2 separate regions of the Homo sapiens genome follow, and region 1 is linked to region 2. Evidence: promoter capture Hi-C in human tissues and cell types (Jung and others, 2019). All regions are on one chromosome and are shown on one strand. The core of a region is centred on a gene start or on the middle of the fragment in contact, and the rest is flanking DNA. Distances in the headings are between cores, read along the strand shown. Region 1 overlaps SERTAD2 (SERTA domain containing 2). Region 2 holds the start of SLC1A4 (solute carrier family 1 member 4).

Region 1 (6,295 bases), core at 3,223-5,722, 360 kb after region 2:
TCAAAATATGCATGTATCTCTGGAATCACAGGAGGTAGTTTGTTAGGAAATGTCTCGAGTACCCAAACAGCAATGCTTATAATCAGAGCTAATTACTTCAAAATTAATCCAGTTGTCTTCAAACATAACTGTGTGTGGATGAAGTTGAGCCAAGGAAGAACTTAGGCTGGGACATACGCATTCCTCCCCTTGATTCTAAATGAAAAGTGGCGGCGGCTCAGTCACTGTGGTCATTTAACACAGGTGCAGTGCTTCACCACATGTCCCCAACCAGGCAGAAAGACTCCGTGCTTAATGAGGAAGGAAAAGCATTTTGAAAGCACACACAGTTCTACCCAAATTATACATGTTACCTTTCTTTAACTTGGTTCTTTTAATCCTTTAAGAAGTGCTCAAGCTGTAATCTATGACACCTGTATCTGTTTAGGTCATAGCATTGTAAGTGTTTTCTTGGGCTTTAAAAATAAATCTACGTGGGGGAGGGAAATCGAACCTGCATGATAATCTTAGGCATGCGAACACAAGCACATGAGCTGAGAAAGTCAAAATCATGGTTTCCATGGTAATTCTTAACTTGTCTGTGTCGTACACATTTCTCAAGAAATACACTCACCAGACTACCTAGTGATAAAAATTGCTCCACAGGCATACAAAGGTGGATTTTCTAACTCTCTCTTATTGTAAAAGGTCTTCCTTCCTCCCACCCCTAATTAATCCACGTGTACTTGTAAATAACCCTGGGCAGGAAACTGAGGTCCAAGTCCTGCCCTCTAAATCAGTCTCTTTTTTTATGGGAGAAATCAGCTTTCATGTGATTAATGCCATTTCCTCTCTCTCCCCTCTGCAGATATATGTTGGGTAAAGGAGGAAAACGGAAGTTTGATGAGCATGAAGATGGGCTGGAAGGCAAAATCGTGTCTCCCTGTGACGGTCCATCCAAGGTGTCTTACACCTTACAGCGCCAGACTATCTTCAACATTTCCCTTATGAAACTCTATAACCACAGGCCCCTGACAGAGCCCAGCTTGCAAAAGACCGTTTTAATTAACAACATGTTGAGGCGGATCCAGGAGGAACTCAAACAGGAAGGCAGCCTGAGGCCCATGTTCACCCCCTCCTCCCAGCCCACCACCGAGCCCAGCGACAGCTACCGAGAGGCCCCGCCGGCCTTCAGCCACCTGGCGTCCCCGTCCTCCCACCCCTGCGACCTCGGAAGCACTACGCCCCTGGAGGCCTGCCTCACCCCGGCCTCACTGCTCGAGGACGACGATGACACGTTTTGCACCTCCCAGGCCATGCAGCCCACGGCTCCCACCAAACTGTCACCTCCAGCCCTCTTGCCAGAAAAGGACAGTTTCTCCTCTGCCTTGGACGAGATCGAGGAGCTCTGTCCCACATCTACCTCCACAGAGGCGGCCACGGCTGCGACTGACAGTGTGAAAGGGACCTCCAGCGAGGCTGGCACCCAGAAACTCGACGGTCCTCAAGAGAGCCGCGCAGATGACTCAAAACTGATGGACTCTCTGCCTGGGAATTTTGAAATAACGACGTCCACGGGTTTCCTGACAGACTTGACCCTGGATGACATCCTGTTTGCTGACATTGATACGTCCATGTATGATTTTGACCCCTGCACTTCCTCATCAGGGACAGCCTCAAAAATGGCCCCTGTGTCTGCCGACGACCTCCTCAAAACTCTGGCTCCTTACAGCAGTCAGCCTGTCACCCCAAGTCAGCCTTTCAAAATGGACCTCACAGAGCTGGACCACATCATGGAGGTGCTTGTTGGGTCCTAAGACCCAGGGACCCAGCGACTATGCCCACCCAGACCCCAGAGCGTTCCCATAACCCTGACAGTTCTCCACACTGTGCATGCACCCTTGCTTGCCTTTTTCAGAGAAAAAGAAAATTTTACAACAGGATCACACTAGTTTTTGCTTTGAGCAGAGTTGGAGTGCCTTCATCCAAGTATGACCACTTTTAATACACTTTTTTGAGTGGTTCCTCAGAGACCTACTACCCTGGTATAGGAAAGAATCCATTTGAAGACAATGTTGCAATGTTGAATGACAAAAATAAACAGTTCAAGTGAAGCACAAGGATTAAGTTGGAAAAGCTGTAAATTGCATGTGCATATTTGTCTATTTTTTCTATAAGTTTTATTGCAAGAGGTAAAGAAGAAAACTATATATATATATCTTATTTAGATAATCTCAGTACCTTTTCTGGCATTTTTGCCCTGTATAGGTTGACTTGGCAATTCGGCCTTTTTAGAGGCATTAACTACTCCTCGTAAGTGTTGCATTTACATGGCTGTTTAGAAAACTGCTGCCCAAATTTATTTTATATTTTTGTACAGATTCTGCAGTTTATGATATTGTTTTTCTAAAAACAAATGCTGTTTATACATATGAGATAGCTATTTTGATAGGATTTGCTCACATAGTTCCTGCAAACTTCAGATGTACAAGTTGCACTTGTACTTTTATAGAGTTGTAATGTTTTATATGTGTATGGTGCAAGAGAAAATTGGATCAAATCAATCTGCAGTTGATGTCCCCAAATGCAAACACAGGCACACACATGCACACACCCATAAACACACACACAGTGCTTTAAGAAAGGGCCAGGTGATATCACACCCAAATTTCACAAGCACTGACCCCCTGGCACCAACACCCGCCAGTACTGTGACTTCCAAAGCCAGAGCCACATGTGCTCATCAAACTTGCATTAAGCAGTTGGCGGGAGATGGCTGTGGAGCTGGGGGTTTAAGTGATGGTTCTCTTTTGCTCCCTCTTTTGAGGGTAAAGCTACTGTCTTTCTTAAGAGTGTATTTATGCCAAGTTTGCGCTTTTAATTGTTTTTATTTTGTTTTTTAATGAAAACCCAGATCTTTCCTTTTTGGCATAATTTTTATGATGACCTGAAATTTTACATCCGAACAAAATTTTACATCCGAAAAGCAACCAACTTCTTCATGGAACTCAGCCCTGTTGCAATGCTTAGGGCCCTTAAAGAAGAAAATCTCCCCAGAAGGCATCCATCATGTTGCTTAATTGTCTTCTGCAGCTTCCTTTCCCTAGAGCTTTCCCTGTGTTGCTAAGAGCTGAAAATGGCATCTTCGTGATCACCACAGTGAGCTTGGCTCGCCTCGGCCGGCCCGGGATGCACTCTTACAACATGTGTGACTCTTGAACCTGGAGTTCATCACATTACGTCACAGCTTCCCATCTGGTTGCTTTCCTGAGTCAGCTACTTCACACTTGTCAAGGCTGTTTTACCCCAAAACTCAGACAGGACTTTCTATGCATGTTTTCCCTCCTCCCCCCAATTCCCCCCCCCATCACCTTATCTCCCAGGACACACTTGAGAAGTAGCTTTTTATTCCTAGTGGTGTACATTTAATTTTAAAAAGGTTGCAATGTATCATGCTTGTTGCCGAAACTGTTTATGGCCTTCTTGTTTCAGTTTTTTCTTTTCTTCCAATGGTACTTTAGCTGTTGAGTGCAGGTTACAACCTATATTGTTATGCAGATGGCTTCTTTAGGAATAACTTTTATATTTATTTAAAAATTTTTAAATTATGGGATGTTTTGTTGTTGTTGTTGTCTTTGTTGTTGGTCATTTGTCAATATTCAGTCACCAATTCTGCTCACTTCTTGCCATGGATAAAATTGGGTCTTTCTGGCTAATTAAAAAAGACAACTTTATAAAATGGCACTTTAAGCAAGCCATAGTTAGTTTTATTTTTGTAATGCACATGGCAAAGCAAAGACGTTTGTGATGAAGGAACTGCTCATCTAAGCAAAAGATTTGAGTATGATATGATAAAGGCTTTCTACATTCTAATTTACTTTTTCCCCCCACTTGAATGTGTTTTAAAGGCTAATTATCAGCTCAGTAGAGCAGTGAGAAACTGATCAAATTGCACTTGTTCTCCTACAAGCAACCTCCACGCAGACACCTCGTACTGCTACAGGTGTGTCATTTCCTTTAATAGGACCAGGGACCATGTAACTGAGGTGAGGGTTGTAGTAGATGCTTCCAGTGTCAGTATGCCTGTTAATTTTAAGAGCTTCCCTTTCTTGCAGAGAACAAGTCTGCCCAGATTCCATGCTTTCTATAACTGGAGGACCTGGCAAACCTGCCGCATGCTGCACACATCTACCTACGTACACATATACAATAGTATTGATGATTCTGAACAATAACAGGGTAAAACAGTTGGTTTGCCATTGTTAAAAACTGATTTACAGTAACTTACAACAACTGTACTTTTGTTGGATTAGCAAATCATGTGTTTAAACAAATCCCATATGTTGGGCAACAGTTCAAATAAGCACGGAGAAGTGTTGCCCAAACTTGGTTCTCTGACTCTTATGTATTTGTAAGGCTGGGCTTCAAAATCAAAACAAAAACCCCAAAAACAGCAGGCAAATGCTTTTTAACTCTGACACCGTTGCCATAAATCCCTGATACTCAAAGTCTAACAAGAAAGACATGGAAAATTAGCAGCCCATTTTCAGAAAGATCAAAATGATCTAGGGTTCTAATTGCTTTTGCATCCTATTCTTACAAAGTGATGTCCCAACAGGGAACAGTAGGAGCTGGAGTGGGATCTCCAAGTCCCAGTTTGAGTGTGGGATGTGCTTCCAGCAGTGCCTTCCCTTTATGAAAGACATCACATGGCATCCAGGGCCAGGCAGGCAGCTTGAGGTGCCTTTACGAGAAAACCGAGCTGGGGCTGGGAGAGGACAGTTATTGACACTGATGTGCAATGAAGTGACAAGATGAGAGCAGAATCGTAAGAGCTTTGAATTTGAAGTGAGTTTTTTTCCCCCCATAAGTTATTTATTCCTTTTTTCTGTGTAAATATATTTATTTTACTGTGGAGCGCTAACATCTGGATCGTAACATGTGCAGAATGTATGGTAGGAATGTATTCTCTTGTAGGAATGTAAATCTGTATTAAAAGGGGGTCCAAGCCAGGCCCCCAGGTCTTCTCATTGTATGCACAGTCCGCATTCATTTTTACTCTTCTCTAATATGGGTCTATTTGAAATATGCAAAAGGTATGAGGAATGTTTTAATACCTCCAAATTTTTAAGAAAAGCATCAAAGGGTTGATATTTTTTAAAGTTTTTTTAGTAGCACTTTCTCTGGATGACAGAAGGAGCAACCACATGGGCACCCTTGTTCATACCAAAGGGTGAGCAGTGGCCAGAGCCTCCTCTGCACCTCTCGAGTGTCTTTACCAATTGAGCTTTTTATCGCCATAGCCCCTTGGAGTGCCCCAGCTGCCCTGAGGTCAATCAAGGAAAATTTCTTAATGAAATAAGCTCCAAAGAGCCAAAGTATCAACTTACAGATCGTTTTTAAAGCTTAAATTTATGAACCACCTTTGTGGTAAACAATGAATTATGAATACCGCAGGGCAGCCTTCTTAAATGACAAATGTAAAAAAAAAAAAAAAAAAGACTCTACTTCGTGCAGCAATTGCTACTCTATACGAATTGTCTTAATTTGAAAACCTTGCTGTTACAAATTGGACCTTTATACATTTTCTGAAAACAATGAAAAGAGTATATTTAACCTTTTCTGGCTGTAAATGGTTACCTTCCTGTAACTGCCCCGCACCTGGAGGCATGGAGTTGTGTGCATCCTGCTTATGTACAATTGTTTTCAGTGTTTCTAAGAATGAGTCTGAATGGTTCTTGAAAATTAGCCAGGATCAAATGCTATTGCAGACAAAGCCAATAAAAAGTTGGACTTCTTTTGGGGATAACAAGTTTTGGAAGAGAAATGCAGGCCATATGTGCGCATGACCGAGATTTTGAAAAAAGATGTACATAGTGACATGTTTGGTGCATGGTTTTTGAGGAGGGCTTTTGTCAAAAAGGAGGTATAACCTTTCCCCCACAGACCTGAGAGCTGTGCCTTTTCTATGCAATATTACAGACGTTACATCGGAACCCAGATGGCTGTATTCACATGTAGGTTTGGGCTGTAATCTAAACAATTGGACAGATTAAATGTACATGGAAATGAGCAGTCTTACTTTTGTAGTTTTATATTATACAATAAACAGTTAAAAGATGAGAGAGGCATGCTTGCAGTTTTCTTTTGATGGGAGCTCAATCAGCTTATTTGTGACAGTTTGCTCACATTAAGCAAAGTCCAGCAAGAGAGAGCAGCAGGGGGGCCCCGAAGGAGTGCGTGCTGTTGGTCTTCCTGAACCGTCCTGGTCTCAGGAACCACCCTTCTCTCCTGGTTCTCCTCCTGCTTCTTGGAC
Region 2 (6,729 bases), core at 330-2,829:
CCAGGAGAGACCAAGGTTTTGGATAAGTCACAGAAAGGATACTACATCATCTCAAAGGATGAAATGCAACTTCTAAGAATTGCAAAAAGCAGGCAAAACTAAGTGAAGATGCTTCTCTCCCTCCCCTCTAGAACTCACACTTTCGCACAAAGAAAGGCCTTTGAAACACAGCACTCTGCCGTGGTCTTTACTGGGGTGGACAGCAACCTGTCCCAAGCCCCAAGCCCTCAGGAGAGGCATATTTCTGGGCAATATGTCTCACTCAACTAACCCCAGCCCTATTATCCGTGGGTCCACTGATAACTGCAGAAAATTGCCAGCTTCCTTCGCAGCCAAGGACTGTAACAGAGAAGGCCATAGATTGCAAGCCGGATGACCCAAGAGGCAAAACTTAACCAATGCTCCCAGAAGCTTTTAGGCACCATGTGGGAGAAAATGAGGCGAAGCCACTGGGGCGTGGTCGGAACATTTTTACCGGGGAGAGCAGCGCGAGAGTATAAGGAGTAAAGAACAGGCGGGGCGGCTGGCTCTTCCCTAACAAACGCCCACCTAACGGTGGGGACTGGTTCTTGCTCAAAGATGCGGCCCTGCTCTTTCGATTGTGCGGTGCGCCCCAGCTGTTTGCAAAGGTGTGGTCAGCACGCAAAAACTCCAGACGTCATTTTGATATTTTTAAAACGTTAAACGCCACCAGCAGCCAGCTAAGAATTAACTCTTAGGAGTGTATAAGCATATGGGTGTATGAACTGGAGGGCATCCGAGAACTGGCGTCTCCCACTGGGCCCTGGGAGAGGTGGAGAGTGTTACCTGGCCAGGTCGAGGAAAGAGTCCACCGTCTCTTTGGGGACAGGAGGAGGCCCCGAGTCCTCCAGCCCCAGGTCGCTGGACTGAAGGGTCTGCGCACCGGATCCTGGCTTGATGATGAACGCCAAGGCCACGGCGAGCGCCGAGGCACTCAGTGTGGTGAGGCCAAAGTAGGCGACAGCGATGCCGCCCAGACGCCCGAGGCAGCTGGCATCGAGCGAGGCGGCGCCCGACACCAGGCTGCAGACCACCAGCGGCAGGATGATCATGCGCAGCATGCGGAGCAGCATCTCGCCGGGGAAGGCCAGGTAGGTGACCTGCGTGCGGCTCAGGCTGAGCCCGCGCAACGCCGCGCCCAGGCCCGCGCCCGCCAGCACCCCGGACACGGTGAGCAGCACCAGCGCTTGGCGCCGCAGGAAGCCCGCGCAACGCCGTGCGCGTCCCGCCGCGGTCCCCGGAGCTCCGGGCCCGGCCGCAGGCCCCGCCTGAGCGCTGTCAAGGTAGCCGTTGGTCTCGTTGCTCTTCTCCATGGCGCTACACGCCGCTCCGAGCTAGAGGTGGCAGGGGACGTGGGCTCTGGCAAAAGACGGGGTTCCCAATGAATGGGTCGGTCGGCCAGTTGTGCTCCGCAGGTTCTGGGAAGCCGCCCCGGGGGTCTCCGGGCCTGGCGCAGGAGCAGGTGCGAGAAAGGCGAGGAGAGGCGCAGAGTGCGGGTTGGAGCCGCGGGCGGAGAGGATCGCGCCCAGCCTCCCTGGAGCAGCCGCCGGCTGGAGATGATGCAAACGGGAGCCGCGAACGCGGACGCAGACGGGGAAGTAGGAGGGCGCGCCAGCGGCCCCAGCCCGCTCACTTCACGCCCGCCGTCCCGCCCCCTGTGGCGCTGGCCAATCACAGCCCGGGAGCCGCCGCCGGGAGCCGCCGCCGGGAGCCTCTGGTCCCCACCCGTGTCGCGGGTGCCGCAGGGGGCGGCCGGGCGGGAGGCTCCACCCGAGGCCGCGGGGGCGCGGGCGGCGCCGGCCAATCCTGGCGCCAATAGCCGCCTACCCGCCCGGCTAACGGAGGCCGGCTCCGGGCGACCGCGGGGAAGTGCGGGCTGAAGGACCGCCCGGGCTCCTTGGCACCTGCCGGGCCCTCTCCCGCGGCCGGGATCTGAGTCCTCGGGGCCAGAGGGCCCGGGAGAACTTAGAACGCAGCGGCGTTCCTCCTCCTGAGGACTGTGGGAGGGGAGGGAGGGGAGGGGAGAAGAGAGGAGGAGAGGGGAGGATCCCTCTCTCCCGGGTGGCGCTTTCGCCCCGCGCGGCCCGCGCTCCTCTCCAGAGCTCGCCGGCCTCTCCCGCCAGGGGGCCGGGCGCGGTGAGGGGGCCCGGGGCGGTCCTGCCGTCGCGTCCCCTCCTGCGGAAGATCCCTTCTTCCAGGGGTCCTCAGGGGCTTGTGCGGTAAAGCACGCCATGGTGCCCAGCAAGGCCCCGGCCTTGAGACAAAGGACGGACCGGAGGATGGATGAATAAGGGGAGCCTTCGCACGCGCTCATTAGGGCTCTAACGCAGCCATACCGCTAGAGAAAGGGGGCTCGCTGTGCCACCAAACCCGGCGCCCCTGGGCCGCGGAACCGCGCGCACCGGGGCGCTCCTGGGCTTGTGTCCTGGGGCCATCAGGATGGGGCTGGGTCGCCCGCCAGGCAGCTGTCTGCGGTATGGGCGTTTAAGACGCAAAGCTCTTCTAGAAGAAACAGAGCTCTCACGCCACCACTTCCAGTTGGTTTCTGCCACGTAACCAAAGCTGAAACACAAGCCACTGGATTTTAACCTCTTCCGTTCCCAGGCCTGAGCCCTGGCGAGAAAACAGCGCAGACGGCGGTTTGGCCATCCTGAACGGTTCCTTATTGTTCACGTTCTATGGATTTCCTGTTTATTTCATCTTTTATTTGATATCTGCTTTGGCCACGCGAGTTACAAGGGAAACTTCTGCTGAGTCTTTTTACTGTATCACAGTTATTATATTTTTATATTTTTTTATTCTGCTTGTGAATTGTTCTTTAAAGACTTCCGTGGGTGGTCTTTTGTTTTTTCTTTTTCCTTCCTTCCTTCCTTCCTTCCTTCCTTCCTTCCTTCCTTCCTTCCTCCCCCCCTCCCTCCCTCCCTCCCTTCCTTCCTTCTTTCCTTCTTTCCCTTTCTTTCCTTTCTTTCCTCTCTTTCTGGGACAAGGTCTCGCTATGTTGCCCAGGCTGGTCTCCCAGTTCCTGGGCTTATGGGATCCTCCTTGGTAGCTGGCACCACCCACTGTGCCAGGCAAGGGAAGACTTAATTGTGGCTAACCTCAATTAAGGAGGAAGGCAATTTACTATAGATTTCTTGCTATAAAGGAGTCATCTTAAAACATGTCATGACATATTTGTGCAAATCAAAATGCCTTCATAAGGAACTTTAAGGAGCTGTCCAAATTTTGAGACAGTGAGTATTTTATTGCTTGGAGCCAGCCAGCTATTGGCTAGAACTTGTAAGGATTGTGTGTGGGGGGGGGGGGGGTGGGCGGGGGAGGTAGTGTCAGATGAAGAGCTGCACATATTTATATCTGGCTTTCCAGAATGCAGTTCATTTCTCTATGTGCACTGAAGAAAGAGTAATTCCTACAGACACACACTGTGTTTTGCCAATCAGCCCTTCCCTTTGTTTTGACTACCACGTTTATGCAAAAGACTCTCAAATCATGCTCCAGAAATGAGTCTTCGGCTGCCTGTTTTACATCTTCACCTGAATATCCTGCAGGCGTCCCAACTAAAATGTTCAAAACCAAACTCATGGTTGCCTTCCTCAAACCTGCTCATCCCTTCGGTTAAAACATAATTGATGACCCAGTCACCTCTGTGTGAAACTTCAAAGCGAACTTTGATTCTTCCCTCTGTGGTGCCTTCTCTCATCTAATGAATTGCCAAGTCCCACAGAGATTCCTTTCACAATATTTATCACATCTGCCCATCCCATCTATTCCCACTGCTACCACACTGGCTCAGTTCTTATTTCCTCACTTCTTATCTGGGCTATTGAAATGTTCTCCCAATTAGTCTTCCCACCTCCAATGCTCCTCTTGTTCCAACCATCCTGTATTTTGCCTTGCCCCAGGCTAATCTTCCTAATGAGTAATATACATGTTAGGATAAAGTTCAGCTTTCACCCAGCAGAAAAGAAAGAGCAATGAGGGCATGGCATCTCTCTTTAAAAACACTTCCTAAAAGTCATACACATTATTTCTCTTATATTTCATCGATAAGAATTTAGTCAAATGACCATTCTTTTCTGCAAGAAACGTTAGGGAATGTAATTTTTGTTTTACACAGGCATCCACCCAGTTAAAAAATTGGAGTTTCTGTTACTAAGGAAACACAGAAAAATGATATTGGAGGACAACTCCTTCATATCACTTCTTGTTCAAAAGCTTTCAGTGGCTCCCAGTGAATTAAGAATGTGTTCCTCATCCTGGCATTCGAGACCTACCATGATCTGGCCTCAGCCTGCTCTCTAGCCATGTGCCCTCTATGCCTCCTGCAAAAATGGCGCTGTGTGCTCCTTCCACATTGTTTTGCCTCTCCATCCAGTCCCAGTTCAGATACCACATTCCTCCCATAGCCTTTCTGAATCCTCTTTGCACCAACTCTGCTTGCTGCTTGCAGCTTTTTATGCTGTACCTGTGCACTCCAAAGCTGCAATAACAGTCAGTCAACCCTCAATTGGGAGTGGGGAACTCCCTGAACTACTAGACATCGTGTGGTGCTGAGTGTGAGAGCACTGTTTGGGGGTGCCTTATACTATGCCACATATATCTGTCATTGAATTAGCGAAAGGGTCTCTTGGGGCCTTTTATCTCCAGAGGGCTGCCCTGTAGCCATTCTGCCTACTTGTGAGGCAAACCAAGAAATAGGTGTCCTCTTCTGGCCTCCGTGACATTTGGTGGTATTACTATATCTCTCTATGAAAGGGTTCACTTTCTGCCACCTTTTTCCCTCTTTCTTCCTCTCCTTTTGCATTTTTTGGTCTTTTGATAATTTTACATGCCTCCTGTTTGTAGGTATTTTGTGCAAAAAAAAAGTTGATTCCTGTGTTAGACACCTTCCCCCACAGTACTTATATGTGTTTTCCCTGATTTCTGGATGCGTAAGTACTGAATTATAGCAACGCCTTACAAGTGATCCAGCCTGACAGCATTACCGCTACTGTCATCTGATCCCGTGATAGGCTAAAGTATTGTTCAGCCAAAATTTATTCCCTTGTTTCTTCCACTTAGATAGGAGTTTACCTTCCCCATTGCCTTTGAGCTTTGCCATTTAGCTCCTTGGCTAGTGGACTAAGTGGATGTGATGCAAGCGGAGGCATCAAAATGTTTTCACACAATCGCATGTGGACTCCTGCATACGTGTGACCCAGCATGCCTTGGGTAGATGCTGCCCTTTCAGCCTGGCACCAGAACAAAGACAGGAGTGTGCCTGAATTTAGCCTGCAGCCCTGATCAAACCCAGCTGCCTCACAGCCTAAAGAAGAACACCCCAGTCAACCCACAGACCCATGCGTGAGAAAAATAAATGCTTATTGAAACCCACTGAGTTCCGGAGTCATGTGTTATACTGCGTTATTGTAGCAATAACTGAGTAATACAAATGCTCACTTCAGCATCTGTTCCAGTTATCTGTTGCTGCATAACAAACCAGCCTAAACCACGCTGGCATAAAACAACAACCATCTCAAAAAGGAGTGGCATAAAACAACCACCAATTTTTTTATGCTCATGATTTTATAGGCCAGAAATTCAGACAGGGCATAACAGGAGGTCTCATTTCTGTTTCACAATGACTGAAACCCCAAGCTGGGGTGGCTTAATGGCTAGAGATGGCTAGGACAGCTCACTTGGGGTCCTTTGCCTGAGGCCTAGGTTCTGGCTATCTATTAGGATCCTCGTTTCTTTCCCACATTGCATCTATTGAGTCTGGAATGTCCAAGATGCCTCTTTCATTCACACGACTGGCACCTTGGCTAGTGGGTTTGGATCTGCTGGGGCTAGCTGGGCATCTGTTGCTCTCTCAGTGTGGCTAGCTTGGGTTTCCTCACAGTATGGCAATCTTGGTGAAGTCAAATCTCTTATGTAGTGATTGATTTCCCCCAAAGTGAGTGTCTTAAGAAATGTAGGTAGAAGCTGCAAGACTTCTTCTGACCTAACCTCAGAAGTCCCAGAACATTACTTCTTTCTCATTCTGTCAGTCAAGCAAATCATTAAGGCCAGCCCAAATTCAAAGGAGGAGAATTAGATCCCATCACTCCATGGTGGGAATAATCAAGAATTTGCAGCCATCTTCAATCCACAGTAACATTACTGCTTAAATACTCGTGTTTTGTGGGCCAGCGCAGCACACATAAGTCACTACTTGCCCTAGCTCTGGTGTTTCTTTAGACAACTCTACTAGAAATTTGCTTTGGACAGTCTCTCAATAAATGGTGCTGGGAAAACTGGATATCCATATGCAGAAGAATGCAATTAAACCCTCATCTCACACCATATACGAAAATCAACTCAAAATGGATTAAAAACTTAAATTTAAGACCTGAAACTGTTAAACTACTAGAAGAAAATATGAGAAATATGAGAAAAGCATCATGGCATTGGTATGGGAAATGATATTTTAAAAATATGACCCCAAAGCACAGGCAACAAAAGGGGAAACAGACAAATGGGATTATGTCACACTAAAAAGCTCTGCAGAGCAAAGGAAACAATCAACAGAAGGAAGAGACAACCTACAGAGTGGGAGAGTATATTTGCAAACCAGACATCTGATAAGCGGTTAATATCCAAAATATATAAGGAACTCAAACAATTCAACAGAAAGAAAACAAATAACCCGATTAAAAAATGGGCAAAGGACTTGAATAGACATATCTC

The links. Contacts are between HindIII fragments. The study calls those that stand out against the background at their distance.
Region 1: a fragment that was not itself captured here is called in contact with the fragment with the promoter of SLC1A4 in region 2 in 1 of the 25 tissues and cell types used here (liver).

The regions. Positions count from the first base shown.
Region 1 is chr2:64,631,428-64,637,722 of GRCh38, reverse strand. SERTAD2 (SERTA domain containing 2) reads left to right here. Exons shown (of 2, transcript NM_014755.3): 2 at 848-6,102. The coding sequence starts at 852. The coding sequence ends at 1,796. It overlaps SERTAD2-AS1 (SERTAD2 antisense RNA 1), which reads right to left and starts at 799. Exons shown (of 2, transcript XR_940172.3): 1 at 1-799. The HindIII fragment of the contact is 5,305 bases long and covers 1,820-6,295 here.
Region 2 is chr2:64,984,249-64,990,977 of GRCh38, reverse strand. SLC1A4 (solute carrier family 1 member 4) reads right to left here and starts at 1,579. Exons shown (of 8, transcript NM_003038.5): 1 at 808-1,579. The coding sequence starts at 1,334. RefSeq lists silencers at 1,180-1,359, 1,570-2,269 and enhancers at 993-1,577, 5,113-5,182, 5,493-5,562. The HindIII fragment of the contact is 13,271 bases long and covers 1-6,729 here.